2 separate regions of the Homo sapiens genome follow, and region 1 is linked to region 2. The links are contacts of gene promoters, found by promoter capture Hi-C in blood cells and fetal thymus (Javierre and others, 2016). All regions are on one chromosome and are shown on one strand. Each heading gives the region's core, a stretch centred on a gene start or on the middle of the fragment in contact. The rest is flanking DNA. Distances are from core to core; before and after follow the strand shown. Region 1 has its middle 46 kb from the start of EXTL2. Region 2 holds the start of VCAM1 (vascular cell adhesion molecule 1).

Region 1 (2,700 bases), core at 31-2,530, 130 kb after region 2:
GAGGACAATATGTGGGAAAAAAAGAAGCTAAGACGTTAGAACTGTGCTATTTCCTAAAGATTAACATGTGTTTGAAAGATATAACAATGTTAGTTTTTGGACATAAACATACATATTGTTTGTACTAAGTGTTGCTTTTTCCTAGTCTGTAATCAATGAACAAGCATCTCTTGAATATGTAGTATTTACTTAGCACAGTTTGAGACACTGTGGGATATTCTAAAGAATAATCTGTAGAGCCCTTGCCTTTCAATAGCCTACAATAGAGTAGGAGGAATACAATGGCACATTTAAGCCATAAGACAAGGCAAGATGATACTTAATTACCATAAGTACTAAATTATGAGGTACAGACTATTAGTACTGTAAAATGTACTGGGTTCCCAGAATACTCTCCTTCCTATCTGAGTGGTAGTTACATGGGTATTCTTTTCACAACCTGTTTTAAAACTGTGCACATGTTTTATTTACCTGTTTTAAAATCATAATTCACAATAAAAATGTTAAGTGATAGAAAGAGAAGGAGAAGAATAAGGCCTGGAATAACTGGAATAAAAACTTGTGGGGAAAATATAACTTAAGAATTGGCACAGAAGAGAGAGCAGATCAATACAAATGCAAATGTAGCACAGCTGTGGATGAGTTGGGGTGCAGATGGGTTGCAAGGAAAGAGGGTACCAACTGGAGTGGGCTTGGAGTTTGGGGTGGGTTGTATGGGGTGGTGCAGTAGCTAACATGAGCCTGGACAATTTGAGAGTTAAGGGTTTTGGGGTTGAAGGAGGACCTTGAGATGGAAGTAGAGAAGCTTAGACTGATGTACCAGGTCATCCATATGTTTGGGATTTTAAATTAGGTGAAAGATTGATGACAATGGAATTCAAGAAAAAAATAATGTAGCTGTGCTATGTCTTCTTCACGAAAACAGGATAGGAGCAGGAGTGAGAAAGGGAAGCAGCAAATGAATCATGTAGCAATGAGAGCCTCCTCATCATTACTGGAGAGGAAGAAGTAAATGTAAGAAACACTACAGGTGAGAAATGCTCACGACTATGTAGCTGAGAGGATGTGGGGATGAGCAGGATAAATGAACCACGTATTTTTTGCTCTTGGGAGAATAATAGTGCCAGTGATAGAGTAGTTGGTAGAAACAGTTGGTTAAGAGGAGGAGGTAATTCTGGTCTTTCAAATGTAGAATTTGGAGTGATAATGACAGTAGGGAGTAGCTATATGGGCATAGAACAAGGGCACATAGAGAAATTTTGATGAGCATTTTCAAATGTAAAATACCACAACCAGAAATGAATCCCCATATTGTGTTATATGACAGATATCATAAAGCACCTAAACGATGCTGCTCTCACATCAAAGGCTAAAAATCAAGGTAATTCTCCCTCCTTGAATGTGGTAGCCAAACCCACATATTCCTCTCCCTTTCCATTTCTGACAGTTCCATAAATACCTAAATTCAAAGCAAAGCCTATTTATTTTATCAGGGAGAAAGCAGATGTTCCAGCTGTTGGTGATTTCTGTGCAAGATGAGCCATCCTTACTACATTTTAAATCTTTTTGAACTTGTGTCTTTTTAGCAAACTTGGAGAATTATACTATAGAAATGGAAATCTATAAAACTCCAAAGGGCAGACAGAATTAAGGAGGCAGATTTTGATTCAATAAAGAAAGAACTTTCTAAAAATGTGAATGATCCATAAATGGAAAAAACCTAAGTATATTCCCTCTTCTGGAAATATTTTAGCAAAAGCTTGACTCTGTAGAGATTCTATATATAGGATTCTTACTTTGAGTCAGTGATTGGACTAAAAGACTTCCATGACACTTTATATATTTATTTTCTCCCTCTCATGTATTGAGGCTCAGTGAGGAAAATTTTGAATAATACCAATAAATTTGCTCATTTATTCATCCAAGCAGGTTTGTTTTTCCTATGAGCCAGGAACTGGGCTAGGCATTGGGGATGAAACAGTGAAAGAGACTCTGATCCTTGTCCTCAGTAATCTTGTAGTCTAATAAGGGATACAGTGACCAAAGTGTTAAATGCTAACATCGAAGTAAATACCTGGAACTCAAAGTGAGCATAGCTCACTCTTAAAGAGTCAAAGAAGACCTATCTGAAACATCAACTATTGCACCAAACTGGACTGTTGAAGACAGAAGAGGCTTAAGTCCTTTCTATCAGTCTACTTGCCCAATATTCACTATCTACACACAAAAATTCTATGAGCAAAGCCCATTTTCAGAAAACACAGCCTTATAGAAGGACTTTCAATATGACAGAATGAACTACAGTTTCAGAAATGTAGTTTGGCTTTCTAGAAAACATAAATCCATTTGAGTCTAAAATATTTTAAAACCTAAATAAAATCCTTATCCCCATGAGATGATATGGACAAGTATTAATTGCTTTCTCCTATATTACCTTGACCCTGAACCTCCCCTATCCAGGCAACTAAACTGAATTGTTCCAATGGCCCAAGCAGAGATGTGAGGAAGAAGGGAAGGAGAGGGAATTACAGCACAATCAGAAAATAAATATAACACATTCTTGGCTTTTCAGTTTAAAATGCCCACCTATGTGATAGAAAGATTAAATCAAATACTTGCTGGAGCATTTTCCTCTCTCAGAAGAAAATAACTTAAACCTTTATCTGGACTAAGAGAAGAAAAGGGATATAGTGGAGATGG
Region 2 (2,700 bases), core at 112-2,611:
TATCCAAGAGGAGATCCAGAAGCCTCTCCAACCAGGTAGGGACAGTTATAGATTCCAGACCTCAGCTATGGCCTTTGTTACAGAGTACAAATGTTATATAGTACAAGTTTATTGTACACATCCCATTGAGTCTCTGAGCTTTAGAATTTTCTTGTAGAATTTAACAGTTTTTTCATGCCGTATTTACATATTATTGCTAGTATTTAGAATTTTCTTCTCCAAATGTATAACGTTTATTATTGCATTTTTTGTATCCACTAAGTGGAAAATCATGCATTAGATATTGTAGAAGTAGATACAACAATGAACAAGAACTGGTCCTGACCATGAGAGGAACTGATGATCCAATGGGGGAGATAGACCTGCACGTGTTTAATAAAAGGAAGTGGCTATTCCGGTTTCTTTTTGATGGGCAAGCATTTTGCAAGGCCTTGGGCTATGTGTGTGCAAGGCTAAGCCAGTTAGTTAATTGGGATTTTTTTAAAAAGGCACTTCACTGGGGGGAAAAGGAACATAGAGTTGGTTATTGTCCCCTTGCCTATAATAAAAACCTATTATTTTTAATTTTTTAACTGGGTTTGCGGTTAAATCTCACAGCCCAAGAGATTTGCCACTTCAGATGGATTCCATACACTTGCATTTAAGTATGCAAAAAAATTCCAATTATCCAGCAATTTAACCAAATTATTGGTAACTTTTCTAAAACAAAAAAAAATTGTTTCCCTTGTTTTGGCAGCAATTTCAGTTACAGTCCTTTACTTTCTACTCAAGAAAATAGTTTCAAAAAGTTGATGTTTGTTGCTAAAAGAACTATTTTTATGAATAAATATAAAACTAAGAAGTTATGGTGTCCCTTTTTTAAAAAATGACTCATCAAAAGAAATAACTTTTTCCTTTCTCTTGTAAGAGAAAAAAATTAATCTCTTTTAGAATTGCAAACATATTTCCTTGATGGAGAAAATCAATTCACATGGCATAGTCGTTATTTATCCAGTTCAAAAACCAGAGTAGAATTTACTACTCTGTCTCCATTTTTTCTCTCCCCACCCCCTTAACCCACATTGGATTCAGAAAGCTTCATTCTGCAATCAGCATTGTCCTTTATCTTTCCAGTAAAGATAGCCTTTTGGAGTCGAAGATGAGGAAAAGCCTGTATTTTATAGTCTTGGAAGTGTCTTCTTTTGCCAGGACAGAGAGAGGAGCTTCAGCAGTGAGAGCAACTGAAGGGGTTAATAGTGGAACTTGGCTGGGTGTCTGTTAAACTTTTTTCCCTGGCTCTGCCCTGGGTTTCCCCTTGAAGGGATTTCCCTCCGCCTCTGCAACAAGACCCTTTATAAAGCACAGACTTTCTATTTCACTCCGCGGTATCTGCATCGGGCCTCACTGGCTTCAGGAGCTGAATACCCTCCCAGGCACACACAGGTGGGACACAAATAAGGGTTTTGGAACCACTATTTTCTCATCACGACAGCAACTTAAAATGCCTGGGAAGATGGTCGTGATCCTTGGAGCCTCAAATATACTTTGGATAATGTTTGCAGCTTGTAAGTTATTTCCCTTCATCTGTTTCAAATGTTAGCATTCAATTTTAGCCCTGGTTTTGGCTTCAGTCAGTTTTGCGATAGTAGTGAAGTAAAGACACTAGGATTTTAAACAGTAGGAAAAGTTAATTTAGTCTAACTTTTAATATGCAATTGAGTTTTGCTATATACCATTGTACTGTCATAGTTAGAGCTGAAAATTGATGTTTTTGGTATCTTTTTTTCCAAAGGCAATTGAGTAATTTGGATTCTGTCTCTAGTCGGTCTGTCTCTTTAGTTTCCTATACTTGACAATGAGGTCAAACTTAGCAAATAACAAAACAGCTTTGATAAATGGGCATCAAGGTTGGAACTGAGAATTCTCTCTACTGAAGATGATTCCATAAACTTTTTTGGCAGTGACTTCGGTGCTTTTTGGCTACCTTGCAGTTAGTTTGAAGCAGCTTAGGAAAGAGATCAGTCTGATCATATTTTAGACATTATACAGAGAAGAAGGAGGAGAATACTAGACAAACTAGTGGTAAATTTGCTTCTGTCTTTTTTTGCTTTTGCAGCTCAAGCTTTTAAAATCGAGACCACCCCAGAATCTAGATATCTTGCTCAGATTGGTGACTCCGTCTCATTGACTTGCAGCACCACAGGCTGTGAGTCCCCATTTTTCTCTTGGAGAACCCAGATAGATAGTCCACTGAATGGGAAGGTGACGAATGAGGGGACCACATCTACGCTGACAATGAATCCTGTTAGTTTTGGGAACGAACACTCTTACCTGTGCACAGCAACTTGTGAATCTAGGAAATTGGAAAAAGGAATCCAGGTGGAGATCTACTGTGAGTGCTTTAGAAAATCTTTGTTTTTCTCTCAATTTTACTTTAAAATCACTTTTTAAAAATGATATTTTAAAAAAAGTTTTAAAATGGATATTCATGTACAGATTCTTGGCTAAAGAACATACAACATCAGGAAAGCTAGGGACAGCTAAGGCCAACATGAGAGAGAGCAGGAATCCAAATCTTGGCTTCTATTTCTACCTCTGCCACAAACACAGTGACCATGTATAAGACTCAACCTCTCTGGGCTCTGGTTTCCTTAGCTGTAAAATGATCATTTCTAAGTTTCTTTTTGTTTTATTAAAAAATATTTCCATTTGATTACATCC

The links. Contacts are between HindIII fragments. The CHiCAGO score rates a contact against its expected background, and 5 or more counts as called.
Region 1: a fragment that was not itself captured here is called in contact with the fragment with the promoter of VCAM1 in region 2 in 2 of 17 cell types (endothelial precursors and M0 macrophages); the score reaches 5.8 in endothelial precursors.

The regions. Positions count from the first base shown.
Region 1 is chr1:100,847,653-100,850,352 of GRCh38, forward strand. No RefSeq gene overlaps it. Among named protein-coding and RNA genes, the nearest start is that of EXTL2, 46 kb to the right of the region's middle. The HindIII fragment of the contact is 954 bases long and covers 804-1,757 here.
Region 2 is chr1:100,718,381-100,721,080 of GRCh38, forward strand. VCAM1 (vascular cell adhesion molecule 1) reads left to right here and starts at 1,362. Exons shown (of 9, transcript NM_001078.4): 1 at 1,362-1,544; 2 at 2,096-2,371. The coding sequence starts at 1,481. The HindIII fragment of the contact is 1,026 bases long and covers 1,074-2,099 here.